Linked DNA regions of Homo sapiens: region 1 is linked to region 2. Evidence: promoter capture Hi-C in 16 types of primary human blood cells and fetal thymus (Javierre and others, 2016). All regions are on one chromosome and are shown on one strand. Each heading gives the region's core, a stretch centred on a gene start or on the middle of the fragment in contact. The rest is flanking DNA. Distances are from core to core; before and after follow the strand shown. Region 1 has its middle 14 kb from the start of NGRN. Region 2 holds the start of MESP1 (mesoderm posterior bHLH transcription factor 1).

The links. The method cuts DNA at HindIII sites, captures the fragments that hold promoters and counts their contacts. A CHiCAGO score of 5 or more calls a contact.
Region 1: a contact is called between a fragment that was not itself captured here and the fragment with the promoter of MESP1 in region 2, in 1 of 17 cell types (M0 macrophages). The highest score is 5.4, in M0 macrophages.

Annotation. Positions count from the first base shown.
Region 1 is chr15:90,277,700-90,282,044 of GRCh38, reverse strand. It overlaps the pseudogene PERPP2. Among named protein-coding and RNA genes, the nearest start is that of NGRN, 14 kb to the right of the region's middle. The HindIII fragment of the contact is 5,724 bases long and covers 1-4,345 here.
Region 2 is chr15:89,749,172-89,753,260 of GRCh38, reverse strand. It overlaps MESP1 (mesoderm posterior bHLH transcription factor 1), which reads left to right and starts at 2,012. Exons shown (of 2, transcript NM_018670.4): 1 at 2,012-2,752; 2 at 3,034-3,386. The coding sequence starts at 2,030. The coding sequence ends at 3,117. It also overlaps the pseudogene MRPL15P1. RefSeq lists silencers at 1,962-2,391, 2,452-2,741. The HindIII fragment of the contact is 7,264 bases long and covers 1,453-4,089 here.

The sequences.
Region 1 (4,345 bases), core at 1,024-3,523, 530 kb before region 2:
AGCTTGCCTTTGATTCCAGCTGCAGCATATCATGAGTGATGAGATCTGTGTGCAGGTGACTGACCTTCACCTGGCAGAAAATAATAATGGGGCCACCAGAGGCCAGCCAAACACTCAGAACTCAAGGAGCCTCCTGGAGTCAACGTATCAGCGGAAAGCTGGGCAGCTAATGTCAAATGAGAAATGCTTTAACGTGAGACTTGCTCATATAGTCAAAGACCTTGCTGGTGACAATGTAAGTTGTTAAAATTATCTGAACCAGAAGTTAAAGCAAGGGTACTTTGACCCCATGATTCTACTTCTGCATTTTTTTTTTTTTTTTTTTTTGAGGCAGAGTCTCACTCTCGCCCAGGCTGGAATGCAGTGGCACGATTTTGGCTCACTGCAACCTCTGCCTCCCGGGTTCAAGCGATTCTCCTGCCTCAGCCTCCTGAGTACCTGGGATTACAGGCGCCTGCCACCATGCCTGGGTAATTTTTTGTATTTTTAGTAGAGACAGGGTTTCACCGTGTTAGCCAGGATGGTCTCAATCTCCTGACCTCGTGATCTGCCCACCTCGGCCTCCCAAAGTGCTGGGATTACAGGCATGAGCCACCATGCCCAGCCCTCCTGGAACTTTTTAGAGTTCCTAATGAGTTCACCAGAGAAACACAAAGTGGAAGTAACTATCTTCCTGGACAATCTATACTTTGTTTCTTTTTTGGCTTTAAAAACAAACAAAAAGAAAACTAGTTATATATGATTTTTACAGTTGTGTATTCTTCTTTTTCTCTGAACATTTTTCATAGTATGCTTTGTAAATATTATTGCTAGAAAAATGTTGGTACATGAAATCCATGGTCATGGTCATTACAGAAAAGAAAACGTAGGCCTGGCACACATAGGTCACACTTGTAATCCCAGCACTCTGGGAGGCCAAGGTGGGCGGATCGCTTGAGACCAGCTTGGGCAACATGGCAAAACCCCATCTTTGCAAAAAATACAAGAATGCAAAAATTAGCCAGGTGTGGTGGCTTGCGCCTGTAGTCCCAGCTACTCAGGAGACTGAGGTGGGAGGATGGCTTAAGCCTGGGAGGTCAAGGCTGCAGTGAGCCCTGATCGCATCACTGCACTCCAGCCTGGGTGACACAGCAAGACCCTATCTCAAAAAAATAAAAGAAAAAAAAATGCAGATAACCAAAAAACGTCACCTTAAAATTCTTTCCTGAAATTACCATTGATGACATTTCTAGACTTTTTTTCTATGCTTGAGTATATATTTTGAAAGAGTTTATACTGGACAAATGGTCTTTAAGTTTTTTTTGTCTTGACACAGGGTCAGGCTCTGTTGCCCAGGCTAGAGTGCAGTGACACAGTCTTAGCTCACTGCAACCTCTGACTCCTGGGTTCAGGTGATCATCATGCCTCAGCCACCCTGGTAGCTGGAATTACAGGCATGTGCCACCATACTGGCTAATTTTTGTATTTTTAGTAGAGATGTGTGTCAGATCCCAGGGTCCAGGTCCTGCCCATGCTGAAGTCTGAGGGGAGTGGGTGGGTAAGCAGAAAGAATATTCCGGGTGGGGGGGCTGTAGGCAGGTGAAAGATAGTTTTATTCAGCAGCAGCTCTCATTAACAGCTTTCTTACACTAGCTCTCTTATTAGCAGCTTACTCTTAACACTATTAGCCCTGTCTCAGCTGCTTGAGCCAGCTGCCCCCCAACACAGCTGTGCAGCCGACTCTCCCTTGCCTTCAGGTTAAGCAGCTTAACTCTTTCTCTCTGGGCACGAGCAAGCCCAGCTGTGTCCTGGCTCCCTCCTGTCGGTCTGCAAGATGGACAGCTTTGGCTTTCTCTTTCTCTGGGTGCCAGCACGCCTGCCATGTGTGGCTAGCCATGTGTACTACAATGACTTTCCTAAAAAAACAACTGGCTGGGCATGGTGGCTCATGCCTGTAATCCCAGCACTTTGGGAGGCCAAGGTGGGTGGATCACGAGGTCAGGAGTTCGAAACCAGCCTGGCCAACATGGTGAAACCCCATCTCTACTAAAAATACAAAGATTAGCCAGGTGTGGTGGCACGTGCCTGTAGTCCTAGCTACTTGGGAGGTTGAGGCAGAATAATTGCTTGAACTTGGGAGGCGGAGGTTTCAGTGAGCCAGGACCGTGCCGTTGTACTCCAGCCTAGGCAACAGAGTTAGACTCTGTCTCAAAACAAACAAACAAAAAAAAAGAACTCTGCCGTTTCAATTGTACTCATTTAACCCTTTTAAAAAATGTATTATAATTAGATATGTACCAAGGTTTAGTGTACCCTTGAAAAATACTGGCTTGAGATTTTGGCCCAAATCTGTCCCTATCTGCCAGACTCCTTCTAAATACAGATCTGATAATGTTGTTTCCCTCTTTTATTAATGACCAAAGCCAGCAATTATTGAGAAATAAGTGGCAGTAATTGTACGAAACATTTTACACGCATTCTCTCATTGAAACCCCACAACAATCCTGTGATTATCACTCCTATTTTACAGATGAAGAAACTGAGGCTGGGTGAACTCAGCCCCATGGCAAATAAGTGACAGGGCCTGAATCCAAACCTGGAGAGTCTGTCTCCAAAGCCTGAGCTTAACCTTGAAGCAATCTGCTTCCTTCATGGGCACCAGGTGTGGAATAAATTCCTAACTCCTTGGGAAGGCATTCAAGGCCTTTCCCAGTCTGGTCCCAACTATTTTTTGGAAACTCTCCTCTTCCCTTCCTCCCACCACTGTGCAGTCCACACCACTCAGTTCCCAACACACAGTGTCCCTCTACTCTTCAATACCTTCATTCATGCTCTTCCCTCAGGTCCTGTCTCTTGTTCCACATGCCCTATCAAACTTTTTTTTTCTTTTGAGGCAGGGTCTTGCTCTGTCACTCCGGCTGGAGTGCAGTGGCACAGTCGTGGCTCATTGCAGCCTCAAACCCCTGGCCTCAAGTGATCCTCCCACCTCAGCCTCCCGAGCAGCTGGGGCCACAGGCAAGGGCCACCATGCTGGGCTAATTTTTTTTTTTTTTTTTTTTTTTAAGACGGAGTCTCGCTCTGTCACCTAGGCTGGAGTGCAGTGGCGCGATCTCCGCTCACTGCAAGCTCCGCCTCCTGGGTTCACGCCATTCCCCTGCCTTAGCCTCCCGAGTAACTGGGACCACAGGCGCCCACCACCATGCCCGGCTAATTTTTTGTATTTTTAGTACAGACAGGGTTTCACCATGTTAGCCAGGATGGTCTCGATCTGACCTCGTGATCTGCCCGCCTCAGCCTCCCAAAATGCTGGGATTACAGGCGTGAGGCACCGCGCCCGGCCTAATTTTTTTTTTTTTTTAGGAGACGGGGTCTCACTATGCTGCCCAGGCTGGCCTCAAACTTCTAGCCTCAAGTGATCCTCTCACCTTGGCCTCCCAAAGTGCTGGGATGACAGGCGTGAGCCACTACACCTGGCCACCTGTCAGACTTTCTACACAGCATCTTCAAGGCTCTGTTCAAATGTCACCTCCTGGCAGGGTACAGTGGCTCACGCCTGTCATCCCGGCACTTTGGGAGGCCAAGGTGGGCAGATCACTTGAGGTGAGGAGTCCAAGACCAGCCTGGCCAACATGGTGAAGCCCCATCTCTACTAAAAATACAAAAAATTAGCTGGGCGTGGTGGCAGGTGCCTTTAATCTCAGCTACTTGGGAGGCTGAGGCAGGATAATCACTTGAACCCAGGAGGCGGAGGTTGCAGTGAGCCAAGATCATGCCACTGCCCTCCAGCCTGGGTGACAGAGCGAGACTCTGTCTCAAAAAAAAAAAAAAAAAAAAGAGTATCTATTCTTTGACTCACCAATTCTAATTCTGGGAATTCTAAGGAAATGATAAAGTTATATGTCAATAAAAAAGACAAAAAAGATTCGCTAAAAGAGGTTTATCACAACAGTGGTGAAAATTTAGAAATGACCAAAATGTCCCACAACAAAAGAATAATTATATAGCTCACTGTAGCCTTGAACTCCTGTGCTCAAGGGATTCTCCTGCCTCAGCCTCCTAAGTAGCTGGGACTACAGGTAACTGCTATTTTTATAGGTAAAAAATGGTCAGATATATGGTTCAATCTAATATTTGACTTCATACAACAAAATAATATTATATTCCATAAAACAAAATATGAGGTGGTTATTTTAACTGATGTAAAGATATTTATTGTCAAAATATATTCACCATACATGTAAGAAAGAATGTACAGTATAATCCCAATATTACTTTCATTATTATTTTTATCTTTCGAGGCAGAGTCTCTGTCACCAAGGCCGGAGTGCAGTGGTGTGGCCTCGGCTCACTGAAGCCTCTGCCTCTC
Region 2 (4,089 bases), core at 763-3,262:
TTGCATTGGTGGAATATGGTACCAGTGCTTCAGAAGGAAGCATTCTTTTTGGAATGGGTTGTCTCCAAAAAGAATGGAACAGGTTTGGATAGAATTTCCAGACTTCTTGGATCCTGTAAGGCTGTAGTGACACCACCACCATTTTTTTCAATTGCAGCAATAGCTAGTTCTGAAGCCAACTGTACTTCAATATTAACTTTTTTTTTTTTTTTTTTTTTTTTGGACAGGGGGTCTCACTCTGTCATCAGACTGGAGTGCAGTGGCATGATCTCAGCTCACTGCAACCTCCACCTCCCGGGTTCAAGTGATTCTCCTACCTCAGCCTCCCAAGTAGCTGGGACTACAGGCACGTGCCACCATGCCTGGCTAATTTTTGCATTTTTAATAAGACGGGGTTTCACCACGGTGGCCAGGGTGGTCTCAATCTCCTGACCTCATGATCCACCCCCCTTGGCCTGCCAAAGTGCTGGGATTACAGGTGTGAGCCACCGCGCCCGGCCCAATATTAACTTTCACCTGAAAGGTGTCTGCGGCCTTTTCGACCAGCTGAACACCATAATCCTCTTTAAGTGGCTGAATGGTCACACCTCTTCCATTGACAAGCTGGGTTAAGTCAATAGGTTGAGTAGGATCAACACGACCCAAATCAGTAACATATTACAGTCTATTGATACTTAAAGGTTGATACTGGTGTCTGAAGCTAAGTCCTTCATTAAATCTGTATTTTGGGATTCCGATGTAAAATAGAGTCTGGCCATCCCCAAAGCCCAGCAGAGCCAGTTTCCTCTCTGCCTTTCTCTTTTATGGCCTCTGCCGCATTTTCTACCTCTTCTCCGACCTTTTGGTCGTCTCATGGGTTTCCTGGAGCCAGGATTCCGCTTTAAATTGGTCAGGCTCATGCGCAGCAGGGCCCAGAGCTGCCATAACCTGCGAAAAGAGTTTTATTTCTTCCTTTCTGACCTGTATGTCTTTTGTTTCCTAATTGCATAGCCTAGATCCTCCATCTGGTACAATGTTGAATAGGAGTGGTAAGAGAGACACCCTCGCTTTGTTCCTGCAATCGGGGGGTGGGGGGAAGATTTCAGTCTTTCACTACTCAGTATGAGGCTACCTGTAGGTTCTTTGTAGGAGCCTTTCATCAGGTTGATGAAATTCCTCTCTATTCTTAGTTTGCTGAGAATTTTCATCACGAAGGGTGTTGGATTTTGTCAAATGCCTTTGCTGCGTCATTTCCACTCACATTTCATTGGGAAAACCTGTTATACCTGTCCAATAGCGGCAGAACATCAGGTAAAGGCCAGTGGTGACAGCTGTGGCAACAGGCCAAGCTCCAGACCTTGCCAGGCTAGAGGTGGCCTGGGGTTGGAGCAGGCTTAACCCCCTCCCTCTGCTCAGAAGGTCCAGCATCCTGACCAGACTCGGCAGCTTATTGAATTTGCCGGGGTGCAAGCTTCCTTGCACTGTCCACATGTTCTTACCAGGGAAGGGTCTACCCAGGGCCATCCTGCCTCAAAGGAGAAGTGGTTTACTGTTTTCTCCACCTTTAGAGGGAATGAGGGTCCCTGCTCCTGGTCCTTACTCTACTCCACTGTCCAATTGGCGCATGCCCTGAGGCTCTCATTATACAAATTGGAAGCTAAGGTGCAAAAGAACTAAGAATTTGCATAAGGTCCCCAACAGGTGAAGGCAGGCCCCAAACCTAGGATCTAGATTTCGTTTTTCTGACCCCGCTTCCTTTAACCTGCAGGGCTGGCCCAACGCCCCGGGCTTCACCCAACACTGGGCGCAGGCGGGAAGGCCGAGAGGCTGGGTCGGGCGCCCAAGCGAGGGCCCAGGTGGGGCGAAACAGGCGCAGTCAAGGGGCTGGCACCTTGGCCCCCCGCCGTGGATTCAAAGGGTCAGGCTCCGCCCCCTCCAAGCCCCGAGCCCACTTTGATGTGCTGATGCGGCCTGGAAGGGGCCACTTCACACCTCGGGCTCGGCATAAAGCGGCCGCCGGCCGCCGGCCCCCAGACGCGCCGCCGCTGCCATGGCCCAGCCCCTGTGCCCGCCGCTCTCCGAGTCCTGGATGCTCTCTGCGGCCTGGGGCCCAACTCGGCGGCCGCCGCCCTCCGACAAGGACTGCGGCCGCTCCCTCGTCTCGTCCCCAGACTCATGGGGCAGCACCCCAGCCGACAGCCCCGTGGCGAGCCCCGCGCGGCCAGGCACCCTCCGGGACCCCCGCGCCCCCTCCGTAGGTAGGCGCGGCGCGCGCAGCAGCCGCCTGGGCAGCGGGCAGAGGCAGAGCGCCAGTGAGCGGGAGAAACTGCGCATGCGCACGCTGGCCCGCGCCCTGCACGAGCTGCGCCGCTTTCTACCGCCGTCCGTGGCGCCCGCGGGCCAGAGCCTGACCAAGATCGAGACGCTGCGCCTGGCTATCCGCTATATCGGCCACCTGTCGGCCGTGCTAGGCCTCAGCGAGGAGAGTCTCCAGCGCCGGTGCCGGCAGCGCGGTGACGCGGGGTCCCCTCGGGGCTGCCCGCTGTGCCCCGACGACTGCCCCGCGCAGATGCAGACACGGACGCAGGCTGAGGGGCAGGGGCAGGGGCGCGGGCTGGGCCTGGTATCCGCCGTCCGCGCCGGGGCGTCCTGGGGATCCCCGCCTGCCTGCCCCGGAGCCCGAGCTGCACCCGAGCCGCGCGACCCGCCTGCGCTGTTCGCCGAGGCGGCGTGCCCTGAAGGGCAGGCGATGGAGCCAAGCCCACCGTCCCCGGTTAGTGTCCCCTTCCCCGCGCCCCCTTCGTCCGTGCCCCCGCGCACAGCCCCACCGCCCGCCAAGGTGAGGACCAGGCACCCTGCTGCTCCCCGCCGGCAGCCTGGCCACCTGGCCACCATAGTATGCCCAGGGCTCCAAGAAGCGAAGGCAGGGAAAGGCCACGCAGAGGACTGGGTCTCCCCTCGCTAGGGGCCCCCTGAGAGTGGAGCCCACGAGCGCGGACACCCGCACAAGGCCACCAGTGCTTGAGGGCTGCGCTGTTCCGTCTCTCCCTACAGCTCCTTCCGGGCGACGTGCTGGCTCTGTTGGAGACCTGGATGCCCCTCTCGCCTCTGGAGTGGCTGCCTGAGGAGCCCAAGTGACAAGGGACAACTGACGCCGTCTCTGTGAGCACCGAGGCTTTTTGGCCTCAGCACCTTCGAAGTGGTTCCTTGGCAGACTGCCTTTCCTGGAAGAGGGCACGGGCGATCCCGACGGGGGCATTCCTGCGGGTGAGAGCCGTCCCCACCGCGGCGGCCCTTCTCAGCCCCTCCCTCCATGGAGGGACCCATAGGGCTAGACACTTTGAGGCAAGCAGGAGGCTCTGCCTAATGTGAATTTATTTATTTGTGAATAAACTGTACTGGTGTCAGTTGGCAATTTCTTCTTCCTACCCGTGGACACAGAGCTCCCTCTCTCCCTCCAAAGAAGAGCATGGGAGAGGTGGGAGGGGTTCTTGCAATCTTTAGCCCCCCGACCCCCACAGGCCCAGACCCCTTTGGCCTTACCCCCAGCCCTGGCTCAGCATCTAGTCCAGATGGGTCAGCCTGGAATGGGTGGGGAGGGACGTCCTGTGAGAAGGCAGCGGCAAGTAGAATCTGCTCATCTTTTCTTTGAACCTGGTGGGGAACTGGTTAAAACCAAAATATCTGTGTAGAAATACAACTCCATTATTGAGTATTTATTGTATGTACATCAGGTACCTATTATACTCAAGTAACCATTTTACAGAAGGATGAGGATCAGCGCTCAAGCCCAGGTAGGCCTCCAGAGTCCCAGCGCTCAGCTCTTGTGGGATTTTGCCAGCTCCATACATGTTGGGGCCTGAGGGATAACAGCTCCAAGGGGTTATTTTCTTGCATCCTGTGGTCTTATTCTCCATGCACGGGAGCATCCTGGCCTTGGAACTCCCCCACCCTCCGCCGGCATTTTCCCATCTGCCTTTTCTCTGGTTTCCCCACCTTGTGGCTTAGAGACATAAATAATGGTGTGGCGGTCCTGAGTTTATATAACCATGACCTCCTACAGGCCTAGATGGGGTGAGATGAGGGGCCCATGGGGTTGCATCGGAATCC